4 separate regions of the Homo sapiens genome follow, and regions 1, 3 and 4 are each linked to region 2. Evidence: promoter capture Hi-C in 16 types of primary human blood cells and fetal thymus (Javierre and others, 2016). All regions are on one chromosome and are shown on one strand. Each heading gives the region's core, a stretch centred on a gene start or on the middle of the fragment in contact. The rest is flanking DNA. Distances are from core to core; before and after follow the strand shown.

Region 1 (2,772 bases), core at 183-2,682, 340 kb after region 2:
GTCAATACCCATATATCTACACTGCATCTATGGTATGTTAATATTATTACTAGAGTAAGCTATTATTATTATTTTAAGAATTCTAGAAGCCACTTATTCTGTTTATTATCTTTTTAAAGTAAGAATTTTATTCCGTATTCTGTTATTTCTTAAACATACTAAAGAAAACTATAAGGCAGTCTATTTGGCTTAAATTACTACTTCCTATTAAACATGTAGTTTGAGTAAATCACTCAACTTTTCCGAACATAAGTATATTAATCACAAGAATGGAAAAACTAATACATACTTTATAAAACTGCCTTGAGGATCCAGCAATAGAAATAAAAGAACTTGGAAAAGGAGAGTTCGACAAGGGTAAAATTCTCATTATTATAATTAAAGTCAAAAGCTTCAGTTAACAGATAAATAATGTTATTGGCTGCAGCATTCCCTTCTGTTTTTCTGCTTTCTATTAGGTTAGAGTGACAGACTCTCCAACCTCCAACTGGTTAGTGATTGGTCTTGAGAAAAATCCTCAGCACTCTCTCTCGAATCTGCTTTGTCCTGACTCCATAGATTACAGGATTGAGGGCTGGTGGGACAACCACATACAGGTTGGCTAATATAATATGTATATACTGTGGGATATTATGGCCAAAACGATGTGTCAAGAATGAAAAAAATGCTGGTGTAAAAAAGGCTAAGATAACACCAATATGAGAACCACAGGTGTTGAGAGCTTTGAGTCGAGCTTCCCAGGAGGGCAGGCAGAAGACAGCATACAGGATCCTGACATAGGAGAGAATAATAAGGATAACATCCAGTAACAAGAGAGATATGTTGCCAAGGCCAAACCTAATGTTGACTTTGATGCTGGCACAGGCCAGACGGGCAATGCCCATGTGCTCACAATAAGTATGAGGGATGATACGATGCCCACAGAAGGGCAGCCTCAGAAGGAGAAACACCAGTGGAACAACCATGTACAGGCTCCTCAGGACAGCAATGCCTGCAATGAGGCTGATGATTTTGCTGGTGAGGATCATGGTGTACCGAAGAGGTTTGCAAATGGCAATGTAGCGGTCAAAGGCCATGGCCACCAACACAATGCTCTCCATAGCAGTGAAGAAATGGATGAAGAACATGTGAGAAAGGCAGCCTCCAAAAGATATTTCTTTGGTATTGAACCAGAAGATGCCCAACATTTTGGGGATGGTGGCTGTAGACAAGCCCAGGTCAATGGAATCCAACATGGCCAGGAAGTAGTACATAGGCTCATGGAGACTCTGCTCAGTCTGGATCACAAACAAGAGAGCAGTGTTTCCCAGGAGTGCAACAAGATACACAAAGAAAAAAGGGACTCCAATCCAAATGTGCACATCTTCTAGCCCTGGGATACCCAGCAGTAGGAATGAAGAAGGATGGAACTGGGTGTGATTAGACGTAGACATTCTTCCTGCCATATAAAGCTGCTGGGCACACCAGCGACGATTATAATATTCCTATTAGTAATTCTTGTTCCACTTCTTCTTTTGTTCAGATTTCTAGTCAAATTCACAATAACATATTAATCTTTCTTTATATATATTCATGAGTAAGGTAAAATACTCTCCACAATTTCTCCTAGCCTCTCCTGAGCAACATTGGTACCAGGAATAGAACCAGTCTTATTCTACTGCCCCTTCACCTAATATCAAAGACTAATATAAAAAGAAATGGCAGAAGAATGTCATCTGCCAAATAAAAATGCAAAATCTGGAATTTAGCCAGAACTAAATGAGAAAAATAAAGTTCCAGGGTCAGTGTCTATAGAAATGTTACACATATTTTTGCTTCACGATCAAGGTATTTGTAATCTCAACTATTCCTCTATTTGGGAATCAAAAATGTAGTGTGTAAAACCGTTTCTGTGTTGTTATGCATTTTTACAGGTATTTGTGACTACTAGACTGTATACTTCTATATACAATTTAGACTATACTGTATACAATTTGGGACTACTAGACTGTATACTTCTGTATACAATTTAGGCTGTATATACTGTATACAGTTTGTGACTACTAGACTGTATACTTCTGTATACAATTTAGACTGTGTATACTGTATACAATTTGTGACTACTAGACTGTATACTTCTGAGAGAAGAAACAATTTATCTTGCTCATATGCAGGAAAAAGATCTGCTACATAATAGTTCTCAATTTAAAACCTCCACAAATAGACATTGATTACAAGGAGGCAAAACTGTGGGTAATTTTAATGTCATATTTTAGGAAATAAATAATTTAGTTTCCATCACACCTGTGTTTGAGAAAAGAAGCTTATCCATCGGATTTGGAAAATGGGTAAAAACAAGGAAAAGAAAATACTTGACAAAGAGTATTTTGCAGCTATGATGGAACATGGATGAAGAGATAATTTTAATCTAGATAATCCTATTATTTGGAGAGTGCATAAATACACGCATTCAGTAAAGAAACTGTTTATATATAGGCCAGCTTTTTCTGTGGCAAGGAAACTAAATATTCTGGGCTACAAAATTTTCAAATATATCTCAGTCTTATATTCATGGGAAGAAAGTAGAAGCCCTTTGGATGACCTACAGTTTAGCTGCTACTCAAATTCTATCCCAGCTGTTTTGTCTCTATGGATGTCTCCAATATAGTAAATCCTGAATTTACAGATAGTAAATCCTGAATTTACGGATAGTAAATCCTGAATTTACAGATAGTAAATTCAAAATTTGAAGCAAAAAGTTCATTACTGCGCAACTTACTTTTACTTGGGAAA
Region 2 (2,700 bases), core at 125-2,624:
CACAGATATGGCTCTGGCCCTTGGTGGAAATCATAGCAGTGTTGGCTTTGGAAGTGTGGTTGACCTTGTTAAGGGTGTCATTGGCTGAGGTGTTTGAAGAGAAACCACCAGAGCTATTATAGATGACTCGGGTTGCAGGATGCTGTGTGAGCTGGTCTTGTTGTTCCTGTGATGGTGGTGGAGGTGGGGGTGAAGACTGGACTTGTTCTAGCACTTGTCCTGCCAGGAGAGCTGTGAAAGGGTTTCCTCCAAAAGGATCTTGCATGCTGTTCAGCATTTGATCATTGATATCAGCATAGTTCTGACCCAGGGCATTATTCCCACCTGGCATTGTCTCTAAGCCCAGATATGGCTGTGGGTTCAGTGGATACTCAAGGTTTTGTGAAGGTTGTTGGATCTGCATTATCTCTTGGATCATAGCAAGGTTCCTGGCCAGCTCCAGAGTCTGCAATAGGATCTCAGAATTATCAAGAAGAAGGCGGGAAACTTCTGGGTTCTGCTGCATCAATTGTTGCGTGTCTAGATGTTCTGAAATGAACTGCCACATGAACTCCATGTTGGACAGAAGCCGCTGGATGCTAGGATTCTCCAGCATCTGTGCTTTGCACTCTGGGTGGCTCACTTCCAAGTTTTGGGTATGCACTTTGGGTGCATCAGACCCCACAAAGTGGGCCAGTTCCACTGGAGCTTGATTCATACCAGTTGGTTGGTGCACTCTGCTGCTGTTTCCTTTGGTGTTTCTGTCCCGGTGGCAGGGATCATTCGTTGGCAGGTCCCGGAAGGAATGGGCTAGAGATCTGGAGCCCTGCTTGGACTTGATGACCAAGTAGATGGTGTGGCCATCCATGATGCCCCTCTGGCTCAGTGTGTCATGGTCTTTGAGAAGGCAACCCATGAAGACCAGCACTAGTTGGTCCATCTGGCATTGGAAGTGAGCCAATAGCATCTCCTTGAACTGCCTTACCGAGATGTCATCAGCTACCATAAAGTCTTTCTGGTTGCCTGCAGTCTTCACTATCACTCGAGTGGCACTTGAAGAGATATTTTTGTCTGCCAGCAGACCTGATGGACATCCACTCTGGGACATCCTGGATGTTCGAGAGATGGCATGCCACATGGGCTTTAGTGGGTGGGCAGATGGGGAGCAGGTGGAAGCTGGGGCAGAAAGGGTGAGGGCAGACAAATGTTTCTGCTGGCCTTTGTCTCAGGTATTGTGCTCTCAGGCCACAGGATAGTTTCCTTGTTGCCCTAAAAGGGATGAGTGACCAGACTGGGGCCAGATATTTTGTGATGTTGTGCCCTCACCCCAGTTCTCCAGATGTGGCCCAGCTGAGGCCTGGCATAGCTACTGATTCATAATTCACCCATGGTGGACAAAGTGGTGATGACTTCTCCTAGGGCTACCCCTCCTCCTACCCCACCCACCAGGGGCATGAATCCTCAGAAAAGGGATATTGTGATGTCAACTCTATCCTCGCAGTCACCCTGGGCCAGCTGGGGAAGGAGGACATATTTAGGGGTCCAGGGCTCTACAATAAAATAAAATAATTTTCCAGAAAACAGGGACAAAGTTCTCTGGATGGAACTAGTAAGAAAACAAAAAAGTAAATAAAAACCATATTTTTAAATGTGGGATGTGTGTTTCCGTGTGATACTGTGTGTATGTTCCTTATAGGGATGTTAGACTTGTATGAAAAGTTGGGTCTACTGAAGCCATAGATAAAGCCACATTCCTATAAGAATGCAGTCTCTCCCATAGGAAGGAGCGCATTAATTTTTTTAATGATCTGGAAATTTGGGTCTTATATAGAGTCTAGATTTTGGGATTCTATATTTAATTGTGCTCCCATGTGGTGGGGAAAATTTTCCTCTGTCCTAGGAAGCAGGAGTAGGGCTAACCAGGAAGGCTCTTCATAGGCACATGCCAAACTAAATGTGAATTAGCTCTTTTTTATAATATGCCTTTTATTCACATATCACTTGGTCTCTTCTACATGTCAATATAACAGAAGTTTTAGAATGATTTGTTTCAATGTCCTAACCCACTCTTGTGTGCCCACCTTTATGTCAAAGCATTAAGGGGGAATGTCGTCTGTAAATCAAGAGGTGGGAGAGGAGGTGGTTAGTAGTAAAATTCTTAAGGGGACAAATACAGGCAACTAAAAAGCTGGATTCTTGGTCCCATGTAAATTTGGAGAATTGTGTTTGGTTTTTATTTAGATGCAGATGGAAATAATTATTTATATGAGTGAGAGTGTACATGTCTTATCGAATGTATATATGAAATTGTATGCATATTCTGTGTTACTAGGAAGCCTTCAGGGTCTGGATTTTATATATTCCATCCACCTGCCTGGAGAGGGAGGAGCACCACACAGATAGCTAAGGAACAAGCAAAAAGCTCGAGCCCATATGTTCCCAGTGTGTTGAAGACAAGCAAAGGGATGATAGGCCGTTGGCCAGGAGACCTTCTGCTATCAAACCAATGATTCTTTATTGAGAATATCTAGACCCCCAGCACCATCCATGTCAGATCCTCATCATGCTATAAGGCCAGTTGCTAACTTACTACAGCAAGACTCAGGCCTATTCTCTTGCAATTGCACTCAAAAGTGAGATCGATCCAGGACAATGAAAAATTGATTACCAGACCAAGATCTTGCCCCTTTTCTCCCCAGGGACCTCACAGGAAGGTGGAGA
Region 3 (2,700 bases), core at 28-2,527, 280 kb after region 2:
AAAAGAGACGAATACAAAATACACATGGCCATGATTTATAAATTGTAACTTATTATGTACCTTTTTGGCCCTTCCCATCTCTGTCCTTGATTTTTCTGACTTGGAAAATCCAGACCTGCCAGGTTTACACTTGTATATAGATCAAGCTGAATCATAATAGAAGTGCATAATTGGTAGGTGCTGACATAATTTGATTAACTATAACCCAGTGGACACATCTCAAAGTATTTCTTGAAAGAAGGGATAGTTTGTAGTGAATTAAGAAAATCAATGTTACTTAAATAGAGTTTATAATTTGGAAATTGGTTGAGGTTGCAAAGTCAAGCATTACTAAATGGCCCAGGAATGTAAGCAGACACATATAAACAGAGTTTCCAGTAGAAAACCAAGCCAGGCCAGGGCTTTGGCACTATGTTTACAATATGTTTTTATTCTGTTGGTTCAGTTACAGTCATAGGACCATTCAATAGAATCAAAAAACATAGTTTGGATACAAAATGATTATTTTTTCCTAAATTTATTATTTAGATTGTGAAAAATGCGTTTTTATATTTTTTTCTCTGGATGAAAATAATCTCACTACTCTCTCCTTATACAGGACAACTTTATTGGCACAAAAACTAGCATGTTTTGTAATTGGTGAGCATCATGAATGGAGCCAACAGCTCCAGCCTGACACCAAGATATTTCATTCTCAGTGGCGTTCCTGGGCTGGAAGCTGCACACATCTGGATCTCCCTGCCTTTCTGCTTCATGTACATCATTGTTGTTTTGGGGAACTGTGGACTTATATACCTCATTAGCCATGAGGAGGCCCTGCACCAACCCACCTACTACTTCCTAGACTTGCTGTCTCTTACAGATGTTACTGGATGCACCTCATTTGTTCCCAATATGTTATGTATTTTTTGGTTTGGCCTCAAGGAAATTGACTTTAATGCCTGCCTTGTGCAGATGTTTTTCATCCACATGCTGACAGGCATGGAGTCTGGGGCGCTCATGCTTATGGCTCTAGACCGCTATGTGGCCATTTGCTACCCTCTACACTATTCCACCATCTTCACCAACACTGTAATTACCAAAGTTGGGCTTGTCACCTTCATTCAAAGTGTGTTGCTTATGATTCCATTTGCTTTCCTGATCAAGTGTCTTCCCTATTGCAGGGGCAACCTCATCCACCACACCTATTTTAACATATGTCTGTGGCCAAATTATCCTGTGGTAATGTCCAGATTAATGCCATCTATGGTCTCATAGCTGCCATATTGATTGGGGGGTTTGACATGTTCTGTATCTCCATGTCTTACACCATGATTATCCGTGCTGTAGTGAATTTGTCATCTGCAGATGCTGCCACAAAGCCTTCAGTACCTGTACAGCACATATATGTGCTATTTTCATCACTTATGTCCCAGCCTTTTTCAACTTCTTCACTCACCGCTTTGGGGGACACACCATACCTCATCATGTTCACATTTTTATAGCCAACCTTTACCTGATGCTGCCTCCCACCTTAAATCCAATTGTCTATGGAGTGAAGACCAAGCAGATCCGTGAAGGAGTGATCAAATTGTTTTTTAGAGAGAAAGGTATTTTAAGTATGACATAAATCTATGATATAGAAGTCTGAATCAGCATAAAGATAAAGTTATAGAGGAAGAGAATAAATGTAAGATTCAAAAACTATGAACTCAGGAAAAAATGTGAATATTCTGCCATAAATTTTATTAAATAATCACAAAATGTTTAATTCAAGACTTCAATGTGATAAAAGACATAAAATAGACAAGACATAATTATACATTTTACAAAACTTAACTTTAGTTAGACCTGTCGAATGGACTGAATCTCAAATGTCCTGTTATCCTTTCTAGTCTATATTTATGTGAAACTTGTATAACTTTAGAGAAAAACATCTTTGCCTGCTCATTTATCTCTGACATCCTGCTGCCTGGGTAAGTATTTGGATTTATATGAATGCTCCAGTGCACACAAAAATGAAGCTGCAATAAATGTGGTTACTAGAGTGATAACGATTGGGGAAATACTCTTTGCAGTTAATGTCAAGAACAATTTTGAAAGATTCAATGGATACTACTTGAGAGTTGTTTGAGGACAGGAGAGATGTAGAGGAAAGAAGACTTGAAGAAATCTATATACTTTGCCAATCAAAGATGTCTGGGCTTGACTGACTGATCTGAGTTTCATGTAGATGGAGAAGCAGCAGAGTGGTCAAGGACAATGGAGAAAGTAGTACAGTTGGCCCTCCTTATATGTGGGTTCTGCACCCTGGGATTCAACCAGCTGCAGATCAAAAATACTTGGAAAAAAATAATACAACCATAAAAATGATAGAAACAAATAATACAATATAACAACTGTTTACATAGAATTCACATTGCATTAGGTATCATAAGTAATCTAGAAATGATTTAAAATACACAAAAGGATGTGTGTAGGTTATATAAAAACACCACACCATTTTATATAAAGGACTTGATCATCCACAGATTTTATTATGGGTCGTGTCCTGTAACCACTCCCTCATGAATACTGTGGGAACACTATACTTTATTTAGATTTCTGGAAATAGCAGAGATAAAGTGCATGGTAGTATTAGAAGGATAAATGTATTTAGTAATAGCAAGATTGAATTAAACGTGAGAAAAATATTAAGAACATAATCCAAGAGAAAATTGA
Region 4 (2,755 bases), core at 63-2,562, 390 kb after region 2:
AGAAATAGACACCATGCTGTGAAAGAAGTTATGGTTTCTCACTGGAAGCAAGAAAACTCATGCAAGAAATGTGTCTGTAGGGAATGGCCACCAATATGCTTCATACCAACAATACACAGTTTCACCCTTCCACCTTCCTCGTAGTGGGGGTCCCAGGGCTGGAAGATGTGCATGTATGGATTGGCTTCCCCTTCTTTGCAGTGTATCTAACAGCCCTTCTAGGGAACATCATTATCCTGTTTGTGATACAGACTGAACAGAGCCTCCACCAACCCATGTTTTACTTCCTAGCCATGTTGGCCGGCACTGATCTGGGCTTGTCTACAGCAACCATCCCCAAGATGCTGGGAATTTTCTGGTTTAATCTTGGAGAGATTGCATTTGGTGCCTGCATCACACAGATGTATACCATTCATATATGCACTGGCCTGGAGTCTGTGGTACTGACAGTCACGGGCATAGATCGCTATATTGCCATCTGCAACCCCCTGAGATATAGCATGATCCTTACCAACAAGGTAATAGCCATTCTGGGCATAGTCATCATTGTCAGGACTTTGGTATTTGTGACTCCATTCACATTTCTCATCCTGAGATTGCCTTTCTGTGGTGTCCGGATTATCCCTCATACCTATTGTGAACACATGGGCTTGGCAAAGTTAGCTTGTGCCAGTATTAATGTTATATATGGATTGATTGCCTTCTCAGTGGGATACATTGACATTTCTGTGATTGGATTTTCCTATGTCCAGATCCTCCGAGCTGTCTTCCATCTCCCAGCCTGGGATGCCCGGCCTAAGGCACTCAGCACATGTGGCTCTCACGTCTGTGTTATGTTGGCTTTCTACCTGCCAGCCCTCTTTTCCTTCATGACACACCGCTTTGGCCACAACATCCCTCATTACATCCACATTCTTCTGGCCAATCTGTATGTGGTTTTTCCCCCTGCTCTTAACTCTGTTATCTATGGGGTCAAAACAAAACAGATACGAGAGCAGGTACTTAGGATACTCAACCCTAAAAGCTTTTGGCATTTTGACCCCAAGAGGATCTTCCACAACAATTCAGTTAGACAATAATGAGATCATAACAAAATAAACACTGGAAACATTTTTTTTACTACTTCTCTTGCATTCCCACATGAGCCAATAGCATTATATCCCCTACAACGTCTCATGATTTCAGTACGGTCTGTTGGAAGTTATAGCTCAAAGATTCCAAAACAATCTCTCTGTTTCACCCATTAAAAGTGCAAAAAGTACTCACACTTAAGCCCCATGATACTACAAAATGCCTAAAGAGAAACAAAGGCTTTGTAAAAGTTATTGCCCAGTAATTGTCTTGAATAGCCTTTCCACATGAAGATTCTCTGTATTTACATATCCAAAGCTGAAGTTCATGACGATTAAAATGATGTGGTATTTCATCAAAACCAGGCAGGATACAGTGGCAAGAGAAATTAACTAGGAGTCATAAGATCTAGATTTAAATACAGGTTATGGCCTTACCTAAAATTTTGACCTGAGCATTTCACTTAGACTCTTTGAGTTCACAATAACAAATTCATACTGATTTATAGCATTTTATGAGCAGGGATATTGAAGCTTAAAGTGAATGTTGTGAAAATCTGTGCAGCTTGTAAAACATTAAAAGATTTGGAAACAAAATGAGTGCTTACTAAACATAATTATAGTGTAATTGTTATTTCTAATGTATGTAGATTTCATTTACTAATCCACTCTAGTATACAATCCCTGGTTTGAGGTCAGCTCTCCAGATCCAGATTATCCCAACGCATGGGCCTCTTCATGGACCTCTCAGCTCTTACCTTCGTGAAAGAGACTTTCAGTCAGGAGACTATAAAGCTTGAAGAGTTAACAGGTTTCTGTCTTGGGCTTAAGGACTCAGGGAAATCCCATCCTCCACAGTCTTTGCTAGAGTGGGTTTTAGGGCAGACTGTAATAGTGTGGCTGCTGAAATAATATAAAGTCATTCTTAATAAGGTATAGAAGATAAATAGGACAATTTATTTCTTTGGGTATTCTAGGAGCTGCAAAAATGTGAAGTTGGCTCCTAATTGGAAATGGAGCCCTGATTGAAACTCAAGGTAGAATGAGCAGAAATGTACAGAGAATAGTGCGAAAGTAATAACAATATAAATAACAGTATAAATTGACAAGTGGAAGTAAACTGAAGTGATATGTCATATAAATATATAAAGAAAAAGTAACCAAGTAATCATTTTCTAAGTAGATATTTTGAAATTGATACAGAATTTAAAAAAAACTAAACAGATCATTTAACAAGGAATAAAGATGACAAAAAATTCATTGTGGAGTGTCTTCTAAGTAAAATACCACTTTTCAATTATAGTTTATTTAATGTATTATTATATAATATTTCAACTACGAAAATCTCATTTTAGAGCCTGAATATTTACATTTGTATATTTAAAGGCTCTAATATGTTCAATTTTGTTCACTCTACCCAAAATATGTTAAACCACCAGACCACTTAATTTTGGTATCATACGTTAAGAACTTCGACTAAGAGTTTTCCTGTATCATTTCTGAGACTTTGCTAAATGTCACGTGCTCCAGAAAGTGAGTAATCTGAATGGAAATGGGTAACAGAGAACTTTAATTTCTAAGGAGCATAGAAGCTAATACAGAAGAGAAAACCCCATTCATTACCAAGTATATGTTCCAGGGGCTGTAACATGGGAGCCAGGAGCATATTTGAAAACAGCACAGTG

The links. The method cuts DNA at HindIII sites, captures the fragments that hold promoters and counts their contacts. A CHiCAGO score of 5 or more calls a contact.
Region 1: a contact is called between the fragment with the promoter of OR52E8 here and the fragment with the promoter of UBQLNL in region 2, in 8 of 17 cell types (M1 macrophages, M2 macrophages, M0 macrophages and 5 more). The highest score is 8.6, in M1 macrophages.
Region 3: a contact is called between a fragment that was not itself captured here and the fragment with the promoter of UBQLNL in region 2, in 4 of 17 cell types (M2 macrophages, neutrophils, fetal thymus and 1 more). The highest score is 6.3, in M2 macrophages.
Region 4: a contact is called between a fragment that was not itself captured here and the fragment with the promoter of UBQLNL in region 2, in 1 of 17 cell types (M0 macrophages). The highest score is 5.3, in M0 macrophages.

The regions. Positions count from the first base shown.
Region 1 is chr11:5,856,258-5,859,029 of GRCh38, forward strand. OR52E8 (olfactory receptor family 52 subfamily E member 8) reads right to left here and starts at 1,433. Exons shown (of 1, transcript NM_001005168.3): 1 at 492-1,433. The coding sequence starts at 1,433. The coding sequence ends at 492. The HindIII fragment of the contact is 1,911 bases long and covers 390-2,300 here.
Region 2 is chr11:5,515,325-5,518,024 of GRCh38, forward strand. UBQLNL (ubiquilin like) reads right to left here and starts at 1,375. Exons shown (of 1, transcript NM_145053.5): 1 at 1-1,375. The coding sequence starts at 1,117. The HindIII fragment of the contact is 7,757 bases long and covers 1-2,700 here.
Region 3 is chr11:5,799,716-5,802,415 of GRCh38, forward strand. It overlaps the pseudogene OR52N3P. Among named protein-coding and RNA genes, the nearest start is that of OR52N2, 7.9 kb to the right of the region's middle. The HindIII fragment of the contact is 3,367 bases long and covers 1-2,700 here.
Region 4 is chr11:5,900,682-5,903,436 of GRCh38, forward strand. OR52E5 (olfactory receptor family 52 subfamily E member 5) reads left to right here. Exons shown (of 3, transcript NM_001005166.5): 3 at 1-2,049. The coding sequence starts at 96. The coding sequence ends at 1,079. All of the region lies in intron 2 of LOC112268071 (a long non-coding RNA gene), which reads right to left. Among named protein-coding and RNA genes, the nearest start is that of OR52E5, 8.9 kb to the left of the region's middle. The HindIII fragment of the contact is 580 bases long and covers 1,023-1,602 here.